Regions from separate parts of the Homo sapiens genome. Here regions 1, 2 and 4 are each linked to region 3. Evidence: promoter capture Hi-C in 16 types of primary human blood cells and fetal thymus (Javierre and others, 2016). All regions are on one chromosome and are shown on one strand. The core of a region is centred on a gene start or on the middle of the fragment in contact, and the rest is flanking DNA. Distances in the headings are between cores, read along the strand shown.

Region 1 (4,328 bases), core at 869-3,368, 210 kb after region 3:
CTCCACTAAAAATACAAAAAATTAGCTGGGGGTAGTGGTGGGCACCTGTAATCCCAGCTACTTGGGGGGCTGAGCCAGAAGAATTGCTTGAACCCGGGAGCTGAGATTAGGCCACTGCACTCCAGCCTGGGCAACAGAGTGAGACTCCGTCTCAAAAAAAAAAAAAAAAGTCACAGGTAGGAAATACAACCAATAAATCAGCATATAGGAACAGACTTATTTCCTTTAGTCACAGAGGAAATGCAAATTAACACAAAAGGTGACACACCCCTCCCTTCAATTAACAGAAACATTTTCAAGTGATAATTCCTGATGCAGAGGAAGGTGTGGTCAAACTGAGCCGTCCACACTGTTGGTGGCTGTGAAATCTGTACAACTTTTGTGGAAAGCAATTTGGCAATATGGGTCATCACACAAACATGTTCGCAACCTTTGGCCCAGACATTTCCTCAGGAAGTAATCCAAGATGTGGAAAAAGCTATGTGTACAATGATGCTTCTGCCATTGTTTATAATGATGGGAAAAGTACATTTATTTTTTACTTACATAAAGGGTAAGACCTTAGTCAAAAATACACAGTGGGTGGTAACAGCCCTCACAGGTCAGTGGAGTAATTGTTTTGTGTTAAAGAGGGACATATAACCAATCATTTAGGCCCCCAGACAGTCCCTAAACCCTGTTTTAATTCATAGTTGAATATATTTATTTAGAAAGGCTTTTAGAGCTCTACTAGCCAGCGGTCAGATTAATAGATCTAAAAATTATGTTCCTAAATCTGTTCATTATCTGGCGAAGCTTGGAGTAATTTGAAACTAAGGGAAAGATAAAAAGGGGAGAGTATTCTGTCATCTGTACACCAGATTTTAAAATCTGTTTAGAGGAGGAAGGAAGCAAGCCAGGGTGGAAACTTCCATTCTTCAGCCCAGGCCATTAGAGGCGCAGCCCCGACTGAGTGACACATCAGAACTAAGGATGGGCTCTTTCTTCTTTCCCTCCTGTCCCCCTGCGCCTCCCTTTCCCCAACTGGAGGAGAGGTTTGGCGAGTCTCTCTGCCTGAGGTGGCAAGTTCAGCCGGACCTCAGCTGCTTGCTGGGCTGTGCGTGTGCAGCCGCGGCGTGAGTCACATCCTCTATCACATCTCCATCTGTGTGCTTTGTGGCGCAGGAGGATCCCAACGGCACTCCAAGAAGGCAGGATTGTGCAGAGATGACGGCACCCAGTCCGAGCTGTGCCTTCTGTCGCAGGCTCCTTGAATGGTGAGGGCTTCTTGTGGCTACATTCCCAGGGTGGATTGGAGTCAGTCCTGGCATAGTAACTCCAGTGAGAGTGGGCGGCAACTAACTGAGGCCACTGGCTGAGTTATAGAGTCACAGATCTCAGGCCTGGGCACAGAGCCCAGCCTCCCTCGCACCCTACAGATCCTCTAGCAGTGGTCCTCAACTGGGGAGACCATCAAAATCACCATGGGAGATTTTACAATCATGCACATGCCTCCATCCCACCTACTGTCTCAGCATCGCCAGCGGTGGGGCTCTGGTAGGAATATTGCTTTTAAATCTCCCCAGGTGATTCCGATAAGCCCCCTTGGTTAAGAATCATGGTTACAGCCCACGGAGGGTGGTCCTGTAGGCTTTTGATCATTGCCCACATGGGGGATTCTTATCCTGTATAACAAACAGCTCCCACCATCCCTACTCTCTCCTTATGATGAGCAAAAGTCTTCTCTGTTGGGTTTCACCTGAGCCCCCCAGTCCCAGGAACAAGCCTCATCCCTCTTCTCAGGGCTGATTTCTTCCCATTCCTAAGGACGAAATCTTCCAGAGCTAACAAGCTGTAAATCATGTAAAATCCTCAGGAGAAATCCTTTGTTTTTGAAACACCCATTGGTGCAACTATTAATCTGTGTCGATTCAGTATCATTTATTTGAAGCTTCTTTCAGGTAGCGAGAGATGTTACCTCTAAGCTCACTGTGGACTCCGGCCAAAGCTCGGCTCATTGACCTTTGGAAGGTCAAGAGTCAGGGAGGCAGCAGGTGTTTAGCAACCACTGTTATATGTACGTAATGGATTCTAATAGAAGCAGATGACAGGGTCTGAAAGACTGAGGCTTCCTGTTAGAAAGCATTCCATTGTGGGAATGGGCACCTGCCTTAAGAGTTCTAATGAGTGTCCACCCCTGAAAAAAGAAACTGCATGAAGCTCGTGCTAAAAATGGTCATGTGTCATTGTGTGTGGGTCATTAAACCACCATGTCAGTCATCAGCTTTGAGCTGCCCTTTAATCCAAGGGGCACTCATGAAGCTTACTCACTGAGTCATCCCAGGCCTACTATTTTTATTTATTGAATTAAAGTCTAATTTTGGATTTTTAAAGGTTTTACTAAGTATAATGAAAGTATTTTGACATTAAAGAACCATTTTTATTAAGCACTCAAGGTACTAAATTTCTCTCTTCTAAATTCCTAGTCTAGACCCTACAGAAGTACATTAAGTACCAAGACAGGGACCAATGTTCCAGACTAAATAATACTTTTTTATGATAGACAAGCTGGAAAGACAAGCACAACCAAGTGTAAAATCAAATCTCACAGTGAATCCACTGCTGGGGAGTGATGAGAAGATACACATGACTTATGAATTAAAATCTTGTAACTTACATAATCCCTGAGGAATTATTGATTGAAGGGAGGACTATATATTCTTTCTGTTAGAAGATTAAATCTCTCTCTGATGGGACTTGTCCTTTATGAAGCTTGCTGAGGTACATACTGTTTTCAGGATATTTGTAAATTGTTTATATATAAGTGGATAAATTACATATGTATAAAATGTAAAATATGCTTATCCCTTTATGTTATTTCTGATGCAAAACTTTGGATTTAAGTGTGTACTTTAGCTGCTTTGTCTTGTTGAAAAACTGTCTTCTCCAGAGGAATTATGTTTGGCCAGAAGATTTGAGTACACAAAGGAGTTTAAAAGCAGAAAAAGTCCTGTGTTGGACTGCATGCACTTGAGTGAGATCCAAGTTTCCCACTTTGGAGAGCAGATGTTCAAATGCCCCAGAGGAGAAGGGTGGAGACAGAAAATGAGGTGTGAGAAAATATGTGACTCAAGAGGACAGCATGTTTTTCCAAGAGGAGGGAAAGAGCCTGGCTTCTCAGCCCCAGCCCCACAAACCCGCAGCCCCATCCCTTCTCCGCCAACAGCAGGCCAGGGCACAGCGCGGCGAGCATGTGTTTGCCCAGCAATGCCTTGGGCTCAAACCCTAGCCCTGGGCAATCTGCCTCATTTATGCCAGGATATCTCGGGCACAGTGCCTTCCATACTAAGAATGAACAACTTTCCCTGGGGGCTATGACTGTATCCCAGGAGCTTAGCAAGAGCTTTGTTCAGAACTGTTATTAATTCGAATTCCTTTGGAGGAGTTGGGATTTCTGAGGAGGAGGGAGGAAGCTGCAGGTGGGCCACAGGAAGGCTCCTGAACAATGTCCATTGCAGTTGCTTCTTTCTGACGCCACCTGGTGGCCATGTGCAACTAAAATCACCTTCACGTGCTCCCTCAGCCTTTAGTCCCACAGACACCCGGCAAAGCCCACTTTGCTGGAGTTGTTGGATGTAATCAGCTTGTACTTCCAGGACCAAAGCTACGTGACCCATTACTGACGTATAGCATAGTTTCTTCCCCTGGTAGGAACTGTTTGTTTGTTTGTTTGTTTGTTTGTTTGTTTTTGAGATGAGGTTTTGCCATGTTGCCCTGGCTGACCTTGAACTCCTAGTCTCAAGCCATCCACCCTCCTTGGCCTCCCAAAGTGCTGGGATTACAGGCATGAGCCACCATACCCAGCCTGGAATGGATTTTGATGCATGAGGAAAACTCCAAATTTTATAATTCCATACTTCAAATGTGTTTTGTGAATGTGTATGTGATGATTAGATATTAACCTCGGCAGAACAAAACATTTATTTTTCATGTCTTGTATACATTTTCTTTTTTTTTTTTTTGAGTAGGAGTCTCGCTCTGTCACCCAGGCTGGAGTGCAGTGGCGCGATCTCGGCTCACTGCAAGCTCCGCCTCCCGGGTTCCCGCCATTCTCCTGCCTCAGCCTCCCGAGTAGCTGGGACTACAGGCACCCACTACGGCGCCCAGCTAATTTTTTGTACTTTTAGTAGAGACAGGGTTTCACCGTGTTAGCCAGGATGGTCTCGATCTCCTGACCTCGTGATCCGCCCGCCTCAGCCTCCCAAAGTGCTGGGATTACAGGCGTGAGCCACCGCGCCTGGCCTGTCTTGTATACATTTTCTTATCAGGCCAAATTGTGCTGGGGTGCA
Region 2 (4,195 bases), core at 683-3,182, 160 kb before region 3:
CGCGCTCTCCCACAGGAAGTGGAAGTTGCAGCCATCACAGGTCCCATCCGAGCACGTTCTAGCAAAGCAGAAAAGAGACCTGAGCTCTCACTCGCTGGAGGGGTGGGGAAGATCTGGTTGGAAGCCTGTTGTCTCATAGCTTGCCTGATTTACCCTCTCCCTGCCCAAACCATTAGCCCTACCAGGATCCTTCCAACTAGTCCTTAACACAGGTTTTGATCTCTGATTTCACTGATAAGAGGCCTTCCTGGCCTCCAGTGGGCTCCCCACCCTCTGCCCGTTTATGTTTTTGCTGACATCTTATGAGAGCTATTGTAAGGTGTCTGAGCTCCAGCATGGCTGTCTCATCAACCCCTTTGAGGTTCCTGTCCTCCCCACAGACTTGTGACATTTTGCAATAGCCACTTTGATGCAGCTTCCTCGGGGTGGGATTGGAGTTGAGGTGGGGTTCAGGAATGAACTTCCGGTATGGATACCTGTTATGTACTTTACTGTGATGTTTACAATGGCAAGAACAGGGATTTGACACTCAGACACCACTACTGGGTCAAGACGCCCTGCTTTGCTCCCCATCTCCCCAGTCAGTTTAGGCGCAGCATATCCAAAACGTCTTCCTCAAGACGCTAGTGCCCGTCAAGATGTTAGCTGCTGTTATGCGGGGAGGGGAGGGGGTGTCCTGTGGTCATATTCATTTAGAAATTTTTGATTTAGTTCACTCAGCTATTAACCTCAGAACTGGGTATTTTCGTTGCAGAGAGATTCCTAGGATCCCTAAACCTTTACTAATCCTCATAATAGCCAGAGATCATGAAACGTCCTAAAGTCTCCTTGTCTCATTTAATCCTCAAAACAACCCGCTGAGGGAATTTAGCATTATGCCCATTTTTACAGATATGGAAAAAAGAGGCCTAAAGAAGGTAAGAAATGCATCCATGATAACATAGCTGGTTAGTGGAGGAGATGATTCAACCTGGCTCTCAGCCGAGCTGTTGGTTACCATGCTACGCAGCTGCTGCCTTAATGGACCAGGAATATGAGAATAGCTTTCACTCTTCCTTCTACCCCATTCTTGCCATATGAAGACTGAGGGTCTGGGGCCATGACTGTGCCCCTAAGCACCCATTAATGGATCTCAAACTCTTTTCTTTTTTGCTCTTTTTCAGTAATCTCTGGATCTCAGGATGGAATGACTTCAAGGGAGATTTTGGCCTTTGTTACATCCCTTTGCAGGGCTTACCCTGGCAGCAGCAAACTTCCAGGGACAGTTTTCTGTGGACTGCACCTGACGCGGATGGTGGTTGATCTCCCAGAACTGCAGGACTGGGTCACATCATTGGACCTGCAGAGAAAGCCAGCCCCCATGAGGGAATGAGTCACTCAGCTGTGTTATTGGACAGCCACCAAGAGAAATCCGCATGGAGCAATTCCCTTGCTGGGGAAGTCAGGACTTGGGCTTTAGCCTGGCACACAGGGAGTGCACAGGCCTTGGTTTATACGTGGAAAGGGTGGGGATCAACAATATGTAGTCAAGGGGGAAATGCCCTGGTTTAGGAAAGTCATGGCTAGCATACACTGGAGCCTGCTTAGGCTGGAAGGGAAGTCCACTGCAGATCATCCAATATTTCTCCTTGCCTCTAGGGCAGATCTGCTCCAGTAATATCCAGGAAGCTGGGATCAGGAACTCCCAGCCCTTAGCTATCATGACTGGGCAGATCTGCTAGACCTCAGACATGTTCTGGCTTGATAAGCAGTAGGTGGCTAGAGAGGGAGGGATGCAGCAGAAATTATGGAGGAGTCCTAGGTTTCACTTGCATTAGCCTAGCCTCTCATCTTCACCTATAAAAGAAGATCACGTCCGGTATTCCCAAGGACTCCAGGTGGAAAAGTTCAGCTGGGGAGGTGATTCCATCCAGAGTCATATCTGTTGTCACCCCTGCCAAATTAGAGCTCCTAATTAGTTCTCACTAGTAGCATTAGCTGGCAACCACTTCAATTCTTCCAATACCTGTCAACATCCAACCTCACTTCATCTCATCACATCCCTGAGTGGCTTATGAAAGGGTGAAACAAGGGTTTGTCAGAGTCCCTGGGAGCACTTTGCACACAGAGTGGAATAGAAAACACAGGTCAAGAGGTTGGGCCCCTCATGTGGGGCCTTTTACCTCCCAGACTGGTAACCTCACACTCTCTTACACATACACACACACACACACACACACACACTCTCAAACAAGGCTGAGGCAGCGGAGTTACTCACCAATAAGTCGATCAGCAAGGCTGACAGGCTGTGAGGAAACCCCGGCCTTGTAGCCTGTCACCTCTGGGGGGATGATGACTGCCTGGCAGACGTAGGCTGTGATAGATTTGGAGAACCCTGACTCACCCTCAGGAATCCGGAGGTCAGTGACATTGTCGGTGCACACAGACATTTTCCTACCCTGGTTGGGGAGTGGGGAGGAAGAAGTAGGAAGAAGTGAGTGGTCACAGAGGAATTCCCAGAAGGGAATAGGGAAGGCTTTTTTACATCTAAATTTTCAGCGTTTCAATGGTATGTTGTAGGGGAATGATTCATCCCAGGTCTAATGACGAGACAGATTTGATTTTTTTGTTTTGTTTTGTCTTTTTGAGACAGAGTCTTGATCTATTGCCCGGGCTGGAGTGCAATGGTGCAATCATAGCTCACTAAAGCCTTGAACTCCTGGGCTCAAGTGATCCTCCTGCCTCAGCCTCCTAAGTAGCTGGAACCGCAGGTTAATTTTTTTTTTTTTTTTTCGTAAAGATAGGGCCTCTCTGTGTTGTTCAGGCTGGTCTTGAACTCCTGGGCTCAAGCAATCTTCCTGCCTCAGTCTCCCAGAGTGTTGGGATTACAGGGGTGAGCCACTGTGCCCAGTCAACATTTTCAATGTTATAAATTTTATTATAAATGGTGCTGGCTGGGTGCAGTGACTCACACCTGTAATCCCAGCACTTCGGAAGGCCGAGGCAGGTGGATCATGAGGTCAAGAGATTGAGACCATCCTGGCCAACGTGGTGAAACCCCGTCTTTACTAAAAACACAAAAATTAGCTGGACGTGCTGGCGCATGCCTGTAGTCCCAGCTACTCGGGAGGCTGAGGCAGGAGAATCGCTTCAACCTGGGAGGCGGAGGTTGCAGTGAGCAGAGATCGTGCCACTGCACTCTAGCCTGGCAAAAGAGTGAGACTCCACCTCAAAAAAAAAAAAAGTGCTAAATCTGGTGTCTCAGCCTTTTTTTTTTTTTCTAGATTGTAGGAAGTAGATGAGCTTGAAAACTGAAGAAAACCTTTACATTACAATAAAATAGAGTTCTTTTGTCTTTGAACTAAGGATCTATCGTGTGGCAGTACATCATAAGCATTTCTAAACAGGAAAGGAGTAGATAAAAAAATACACCATTTCCCCAAATTCCCCACCTTCATTGCTCTCCATAATTCACTGAATGACACTTTTGCTACATGAAGCCTGCTTTAATCAGTCTTATTTCCTAAGTGATCATGACCTGTTACTTCTGAGGCTTCATTTTAACTTCTTCGAAGACTTCTGAAAACAAGATAGAGACACCTATCTCTAATCTTTCATAGATTAGTTTATTTCTTGACATGTTCTCTTTATAAACACCCATCGACTTCTTTGCATGCTGCAGAAGATGGGTCAGAGCTCTATGATGTAAAGGCCTTACCACCAACAGAGTCAAAGACTAGATGCTCAAGATGCTCTTTATATTGTCACTTTTTTTTTTAGATGGAGTCTTGCTGTGTTGTCCAGGCTGGAGTGCAGTGGCATGATCTTGGCTCACTGCAATCTCCGCCCCCTGGGTTCAAGTAATTCTCCTGCCTCAGCCTCCCGAGTAGCTGGGATTACAGATGTGTGCCACCATGCCGGGCTAATTTTTGTATTTTTAGTAGAAACAGGGTTTCACCATGTTGACCAGGCTGGTCTCGAACTCCAGACCTCAGGTGATCTGCCTGCCTTGGCCTCCAAATTGCTGGGATTACAGGCGTGAGCCACCATGCCCAGCCTCTTTTGTAACATTTGAAATGAACTTTCCAACTGCTAATTGTGGCTTGTTGCAATTTAATCAAGTGCAGTGGTGGGATTAACCTTTGCATTTCTGCCTTTGAATTTTGGATCTGAAATATTTGCAGCAGCATGAAATGGCTGATGGTGACAATCTTTC
Region 3 (4,072 bases), core at 432-2,931:
TTGTTTCACTTAACATAATGTCCTCCCGTCCCATCCATGTTGCTGCAAATGACAGGATTTCATTCTTTCTTAATGGGTGAATAAGATTGTATTGTGTGGCCGGGCGCGGTGGCTCACGCCTGTAATCCCAGCACTTTGGGAGGCCGAGGCGGGTGGATCACGAGGTCAGGAGATCAAGACCATCCTGGCTAACACGGTGAAACCCCGTTTCTAATAAAAATACAAAAAAAAAAAAAAAAATTAGCCGGACCTGGTGGCGGGCGCCTGTAGTCCCAGCTACGCGGGAGGCTGAGGCAGGAGAATGGCGTGAACCCGGGAGGCGGAGTTTGCAGTGAGTCGAGATGGCGCCACTGCACTCCAGCCTGGGCGACAGAGCGAGACTCCGTCTCAAAAAAAAAAAAAAAAAAAAAAGATTGCATTGTGTATATGTACCACATTTTCTTTATCCATTTGTCTGTTGATTGACATAGGTTGATTCTATATTTTGGCTATTGTGAATAGTACTGCAATAAGCATGGGAGTGCCAGAAATATTTTTGATGTTTATTCTCTTTACCAGACTGTTACCCCATTTTCCCCTTTTGGGAGGTCCAGCTCACTCTGGACTTTCGCCTCTGTGAGGATGATGTTCTTTTTTCTGTGAGACGGAGTCTCTCGCTCTGTCACCCAGGCCGGAGTGCAGTGGCATGATCTCGGCTCACTGCAACCTCCGTCTCCCAGGTTGAAGCGATTCTCCTGCCTCAGCCTACCAAGTAGCTGTGATTACAGGAGGCTTGCCAGCACACCCGGCTAATTTTTGTATTTTTAGTAGAGACGGGGTTTCACCATGTTGGCCAGGCTGGTCTCAAACTCCTGACCTCAGGTGATCCGCCCGCCTCGGCCTCCTAAAGTGCTGGAATTGCAGGCGTGAGCCACCGCGCCTGGCCGAGAATGATGTTCTTACAGGTTTGTGTAATTGTATTCTTCCTTATGGTTATACTTCCTGGATGCTTAATTAAGCTCGGTTGAACATCACGTATATTTGTGGAATAAGGGGCTTACAACCAACAGGAGTAGACAAAACCTGAACATATTAAATGTTAAGTAACTGAAAAATGCTTTCAAGGCAGATCAGCTTTGCAAAATGAGAAACCAGGAAGGGGACAAACAAACTACTGGAGTTTTCTGGGACGAAGTGGGACCTAGGAAAGCAGCGAAAGAAGGGTAGAAGGCAACATTAATTTCATTAACCTTTATTAATTATCGGGGAGGAGTATGAAGAGTCAATCCTAATGCGCAGTCTTCTCCATTTGCAGGCGACAATCCTGTTCGTGCTATTTTGGGACATGGGGTCACCGGCCAGCTAAGGGTCTACGTCCCTGCCACCAGTCTCACGCTATTGCCGCACCCGTTCTGCTACTCCCCCGGGCCCCTAGCCGGTCCCTCCAAGCCCGACCCCCGCCCGCCCCGCCCAGGCTTTGGTCCGCCCCGCCCAGGCTTTGGTCCGCCCCGCCCCTCCCCGCCCCAGCTTTGGGCCCGCCCCTCCACGCCCCTCCCCGCCCCGCCCCGCCCCGCCGACTCGCCCTTCGGCTCAGGCACCTGCCTGGCCGCCCCGCGCGGCGGGGTCCTGAGGCGCCTCGGGGAAGCGCGGCGATTGGCTGCCGCTCGCGGGTAGAGCTCGGCTCCCCGGCACTTGACAACCGCAGTCTGCAAGAGGCTGAGCTGAGGAGTCGCTGGGCCGGGAGGGGCGGACGTGAGAAGGACGGATTGACGAACTGATGGATTGACGCGCGGGCGGTAGGAGGGAGGACCGACGCCAAACCCAGACCGCCGCCGTCGTGCTCCTGCCGCAGCCCGGAGCCGGCCGCTTCGGGGCCCTGGCCGCCGGCCTCCCAGCCGCGTTCTCCTCCGCCGCTCCTCCGGGCTTGCCCTGGAGCCCTCAGGTGGGTGACTCCGGGAGTCGGAGGCTGGGTCGGTCCGCTGCACACCTCGGGTTGCCATGGTCACCCGTCGCCTCCTGTCACCACCTGACACGGCTCCGACCGGGCGGCCCCGAGGACTGTGTTTGCGGCCCCGGAGAGGGGTCTTTAGTGGGCTTGGGTGCCGACTGGGAGGGGGCTGGGGTCGTGGGTGAGGCCCCAGCATCGCGGGGTGAGGATCTGCGAACTGCTGGGCCCCGGTTCGAGGTCACCGGTCCTGGACCACACCTTTCCCACATTACCAGTTGGATTCTGGGGGCAGAGCGACGCCCCTCGCCCTGGCACTGAGCAGCAAGTGAGCGCGAGGTTCGTGCCCATCTCGCCGCTGCGCCGATTCTTCCTTCCTCGCCCCTTGGTCGAGCCCGTGCGAGAACTGAGGGGCGCGCTCGCGTCCCTTTCTGGGCACGCCTTGGCCCGGAGGAAGAGAGGGAGCGGCGGGGCTGGGAGCCCCGCTGGGGCCGGTTTTGGCCTTTCTCACATCAATGGTCGGGATGGGAGCAGGCCTTTGGGGATCTGGGTGTGGTCGCGGAAAGGGGCAGCGACTCGATTTAGAACTGGGATTGCGCTGGAGGGGCGCCTGCGTAGAAGAACGCAAGGTTGTGGAACTCAAAGGGTTAAACCGCTTCCCTTTATTGGGGAGAAAAATATTGGAACTCTAGCTCTGGGGCGAGGCCATGGGCAAAGGGGGCGGGGGCGGGGGGCGAGGGTAGGCCGGGGCGGCATTTGGGCTTTTGACCAGATGATTTTTCCTTCTCTGTACCCAGACGTGCAGTTAGTAACCGTGCATGGTATCTGAGGGGACCGTTTTTTTTTTTTGGCAACTTGGTTTTCTCTGCATAATGAAAGGAGAAGTCTTTGTTCCACCCAGATTCGTAGGTTGTGATCCTAATACTTATTTCTCTCTTTGTTGGAGACTCTGTAGAATGCCTCAAAAAGTTAATGGCACAGAAATGAACATGTAGGTTTAAAAAATGCTATAAATCTTTTTTTCACAGTAAATTCAAGTAGAATTTTTTTGTCTCCAGTGTTGGCATATGTTGCATTGGCATTTTACTAAGAAGGAGAAACGCCTAAGAGCCCATTTTCCTTTATATGGCATATTGTCGAGGTCTCATTTAGGAAGAAGATGAAATGAATAATTCTACTTTAGGTTTGGGAGATTAGGAGAGATTGCTTCCAATAGGAAAGAAACATTATTACACGGTAATGGAAAAGTCAAGTCACAACAGTATATTGTTAGGTAAAAAAGCCAAAACCCAAACACTTGAATTTGGATGCCATTATGAAGATGTAAATTTTTTTTTTTTTTTGGACGGGATTTTAACCTGTGTTTATCTCCCACTGGTCCACTTCCTGGTTCTTTTCTCCCTCGCCTTAAAAACCAGTACTGTTAAGAATGTGTCATAAGAGAACAGGGGTACTATCCTATGTTACTACTTACATAATGGTGTTCAACCTCTTTTCCTGTTTGTGAAATAGAATATATTAGTTATTTAATGGGCGGCATATGAAATGCTTAATGTATGCTGCAGTTTCAGAAACGCTTTAGTTATGAAAAGATGTGCAGTTTTCCTTAGTAGATCAGTAAGCTGAAAAATCAGATTACCTGTATTTAAGCTTTCTTTTGCTACTGATTGCATTCTTGTAAGAGCTGCTAAGCTTAACATTGACTGATTTCTCATTCTGTAAAATGGTGATGCTTGCTATTGTTTTAGTCTGAGAATGGGCTTTGAGTTGAAAGCACTTTGGAAGGCATCTGTTGATTACCTTTTTTTTTTTTTTTTTTTTTTGAGACGGAGTCTCACTCTGTCATCCAGGCTGGAGTTCAGTGGCATGATCTCGGCTCACTGCAGCCTCTGCCTCCTGGGTTCAAGCGATTCTCCTGCCTCAGCCTCCCAAGTAGCTGGGATTACAGGTGCCTGCCACCACGCCCGGCTACTTTTTGTATTTTTAGTAGAGATGGGGTTTCACCATGTTGGCTAGGCTGGTCTCGAACTCCTAGCCTCAGGTGATCCACCCGCCTTGGGCTCGCAATGTTGGGATTACAAGCTTGAGCCACCGTGCCTGACCCTGTATATTATTTTTGAACAGAAGACTTGAACCCAGGTCTTCAGA
Region 4 (4,057 bases), core at 638-3,137, 250 kb after region 3:
ATAGCTTTATCAGTTAATATAACTTCAAAAGTTGAAAGGACTAAAGAAAAACAAACTAATTCACAGTCATGATCAGAGTTTTTAATATACCACTTCTAGTAACTGACAGAGCAGGTAAAAAAAAATCAGAAAAGAAATAGAAGATTTGAACATGATTAACCATCTTGATTTAACTGACACATACAGAATTTATATTCCTTTCAAGTACACATAGGGCACTTATGATAATATATGCTAGGTCAGAAATCAATTTTTTTTTTTTTTTTTTTGAGACAGAGTCTCACTCTGTTGCCCAGCCTCCTGAGTAGCTGGAGCCACAGGTGTGTGCCATCACACATGGCTAATTTTTGTATTTTTAGTAGAGATGGGGTTTCGCCATGTTGGCCAGGCTGGTCTTGAACTCCTAGCCACATGTGATTCGCCTGCCTTGGCCACTCAAAGTGCTGGGATTACAGGCACGAGCCACCATGCCCAGCCCCATAAATCAAGTCTTAACATATTTTAAAAGACTGATGTCATATAGTGCACATTCTCTGACCACTGTATAATTAAATTACAACTCAGTAACAGAAAGATAACTAGAAAATTCCCAAATGCTTTGAAATTTAAAAACGTATTCCCTATATAACACATGGGTCAAAGAAGAAATCATAATAAGGGTTAGAAAATGTTTTGAACTAAATGAAAATAAGTTATTCCAAAACTCCTGGGATGCAGCTAAGTTTGAAGATGTAAATAACTATAAAATATATACAATAGAACAGAAGAAAGGTTGGAAATCAATGTTCTAAAACTCCAACTCAGGAAGCTAGAAGAAAAAATTTAAACCAGGGGTGTCCGATATTTTGGCTTCCCTGGGCCACACTGGAAGAAGAACTGTCTTGGGCCACATATAAAATACACTAACAATAGCTGATGAGGTTAAAAAAAAAATCACAAAAACATCTCATAATGTTTTAAGAAAGTTTACAAATTTGTGTTGGGCCACATTCACAGCCGTCCTGGGCTGTATGTGACCCATGGGCCACAGGTTGGACAAGCTTCATTTAAAACAAAGTAAGCTGAAGGAAGGAAATAAAACTGAGTAAAAATCAGCTAATTAAAGATAAAACATGCAAGAGTGAAAATCAACAAAGACAAATGTTGGTTCTTTGAAATATTAATAACATATGCAGTGAATTTTATTTTATTTTTTTTTACATGGAGTCTCACTCTTTTCTCCAGGCTGAAGTGCAGTGGCACTATCTTGGCTCACTGCAACCTCCGTCTCCCAGGTTCAAGCAATTCTCCTGCCTCAGCTTCCCGAGTAGCTGGGATACAGGTAGGCACCATCAAGCTCGGCTAATTTTTGTATTTTTTTTAGTAGAGACAGGGTTTCACCATGTTGGCCAGACTGGTCTCAAACTCCTGACCTCAGGTGATCCGTCTGCCTTGGCCTCCCCAAGTGCTGGGATTACAGACGTGAGCCACCGTGCCCGGACTGCAGGGGATATTAATAATATATAGGGGAATAAACAAATTAACAATAGCAAGATTAGTAAATAAAATCTAACTATAGATTCTACACATATTGAAAGGATAAGAGGACATTTCAAAATTTAGATATAATAGACAAATTCCCTGAAAAATGCGATATCCCAAAACTAATGAAGAAAAAGTAAAAAACTAAATAGTTCTATATCTATTAAATAACTTATCATTAATTATAACGAAAGACCTCCCCATAAAGAAGTCTCTATGCCTGAACTGCTTCAATGGTGAATTCTTTCAAGCAGCAATAGAACAAGCAGTAACAATCTTACACAAACTCTTTCAGAGAATGGAATGACAAAGTGTGCATCACAATTCATTTCATAAGACCAAAAAAATCTTGCTGCTAAAACCTGACAAGAACATTACAAAAAAGGACTATTACAGAAAAGTATTTCTCATAAATATAGAAGCAAATATCCTACAACAAAATATTAGCAAACAAAATCCAGTGATAGAGGAAAAGGATGATGCATCATGATCAAGTGGAGTTTATTCTAGAAATGGTTACTTTTATGTTAGTAAGTCAATAAATGTAATTCATCACATTAACAGAATAAAGGGGAAAAAAAGACAATATCAAAATGCCTTTGATGAAATCCAACATCGAAATTTCCTGATTAAAAGAAAACAGAAACAGGCTGGGTGTGGTGGCTCACGCCTGTAATCTCAGCATTTCGAGAGGCTGAGGCAGGAGGATTGTCTGAGCTCAGGAGTTCGAGACCAGCCTGAGCAATATGGTGAAATTCTGTCTCTATTAAAAACACACAAAAATTAGCTGGGCATGGTGGTGCACACCTGTAATTCCAGCTGCTTGGGGGCCTGAGGTGGGAGGATCGTTTGAGCCCAAGAGGTTGAGGCTGCAGTGAGTTGAGACTGCACCACTGCACTCCAGCCTGGGTGACAGAACAAGACCCTGTCTCTTAAAAAAAAGAAAAAAGAAAAAAACAAAAAACAGAAACACATAAAAACCTGTTGGTAAACTAAGAATAGAAAGGAACATCCTTAATCTGATAAAAGAAAACTACCTAAAACTAACATAATACTTAATGATGAAATATTGAACTCATTTCCCATAAAGCTGGGAATGAGACAAGGACGCTCATTATCACCAGTTTGATTTCATGTTATACTGGAGGTATCAGCCAGAACCAGGAGGTATTAACTACTAAAAAAAAAAAATTTTAAACGTATGACAAGCTTGTCTAACCCACCTTATTTTGTTGTTGTTGTTGTTCTGTTTTGTTTTAGGCTTTTTGCAGCCTGAAGCCATGGTTTTTAGTTTCTGTCTCTAGTGATAAGTGGAAAAGAGGGATAAGGAAGGGACTTTACTAGCCGAAACAGAAACTAAGAACCCATGACTGTATTCTCTCCTTTGGACACCTCTGGAAGATTAATTTAGAAAGGAAGACACTAAATTTTCTTTATTCACAGATTATATTACTGTGTATATAAAAATCCAGCTAGGTGCACTGGTACCTGCCTGTAGTCCCAGCTACTAGGGAGGCAAGGGTGGGGGGATTGCTTGAATTCAGAGACTAGCCTGGCCAACAGAGTTCCGATCTCTTAAAAACAAAAAAGCCAATCTATAAACAAAGTACTAGAATTAAAAAATAAATTTAGCAAGGTCACCAGATCCAAGGTAAATATACAAAAATCAATCACATTTTATATACTAATAAAGTAAAATGGAATTTAAAAAATACCATTTATAACACCAAAAAATCAAATACCTAGAAATAAAGAAAAAATGTGCAATACCACTAAAATGAAAATTATAAAATGCGGCTGAGATAAACTATCTACATAAGTGGAGCTATATTCTATGTTCTTGGATCAGAAGATGCAATATTTTTGTCAGTTCTTCCCAAATTAGTGTACAGATTCATGTAATCCCAATCAAAATTTCAGTTAAATGTTTCTGTTGAAATTGTCAAGCAGAATCTAAAATGTGTATTAAAAGACAAAGGTTGTAACAGCTGAGACAATCTTGAAGAACAAAGCTGGAAGACTTATACTACCAAATTTCAAAACCATTACAAAGGTACACTAGTTAAGACAGTGTGGTCTTGTTACAAGGATAGACAAATTGACCATGGAAAAGGACATGGAGTCCACAGACCCACACATTTATGGTCACTTGATTCACAACAAATGCATTACTGCAACTCAATGGTGAAAGGATGGTCTTTACAATAAACAGTGCTTGAGTAATCAGATATGTATATCGAAATAAAATGAAGCTAGACCCTTACCTCACACCATAAATCAAAATTAATTTGAGTGAATGGCATGGTTTGGCTCTGTGTCTCCACCCAAATCTCACCTTGAATTGTAATAATCCCCACGCGTCAAGGGCAGGACCAAGTGGAGATAACTGAATAATGGGGGCAGTTTCCCCCATGCTGTTCTTGTGATAGTGAGTGAGTTCTCATGAGATCCGATGGTCTTATAAGGGGCTTCCTCCTTCACTCGGCATTCTTTCTCTCCCCTGCCACCCTGTGAAGAGGTGCCTTTCACCATGACT

The links. Contacts are between HindIII fragments. The CHiCAGO score rates a contact against its expected background, and 5 or more counts as called.
Region 1: a fragment that was not itself captured here is called in contact with the fragment with the promoter of WDR47 in region 3 in 2 of 17 cell types (erythroblasts and total CD8 T cells); the score reaches 6.6 in erythroblasts.
Region 2: a fragment that was not itself captured here is called in contact with the fragment with the promoter of WDR47 in region 3 in 1 of 17 cell types (neutrophils); the score reaches 5.4 in neutrophils.
Region 4: a contact is called between a fragment that was not itself captured here and the fragment with the promoter of WDR47 in region 3, in 1 of 17 cell types (M2 macrophages). The highest score is 5.4, in M2 macrophages.

What each region holds. Positions count from the first base shown.
Region 1 is chr1:108,827,487-108,831,814 of GRCh38, reverse strand. AKNAD1 (AKNA domain containing 1) reads left to right here. Exons shown (of 16, transcript NM_152763.5): 10 at 1,165-1,256. The region is part of intron 2 of LOC105378891 (a long non-coding RNA gene); the gene reads right to left. Among named protein-coding and RNA genes, the nearest start is that of AKNAD1, 27 kb to the left of the region's middle. The HindIII fragment of the contact is 371 bases long and covers 1,933-2,303 here.
Region 2 is chr1:109,195,717-109,199,911 of GRCh38, reverse strand. ELAPOR1 (endosome-lysosome associated apoptosis and autophagy regulator 1) reads right to left here. Exons shown (of 22, transcript NM_020775.5): 16 at 2,258-2,438; 17 at 1,837-1,933; 18 at 1,238-1,339; 19 at 1-58. Among named protein-coding and RNA genes, the nearest start is that of SARS1, 16 kb to the left of the region's middle. RefSeq lists an enhancer at 1,376-2,575. The HindIII fragment of the contact is 6,896 bases long and covers 1-4,195 here.
Region 3 is chr1:109,039,711-109,043,782 of GRCh38, reverse strand. WDR47 (WD repeat domain 47) reads left to right here and starts at 1,681. Exons shown (of 15, transcript NM_001142551.2): 1 at 1,681-1,921. RefSeq lists a silencer at 1,484-2,033. The HindIII fragment of the contact is 10,570 bases long and covers 1-3,576 here.
Region 4 is chr1:108,786,204-108,790,260 of GRCh38, reverse strand. All of the region lies in intron 11 of STXBP3 (syntaxin binding protein 3), which reads right to left. Among named protein-coding and RNA genes, the nearest start is that of STXBP3, 42 kb to the right of the region's middle. The HindIII fragment of the contact is 1,690 bases long and covers 1,043-2,732 here.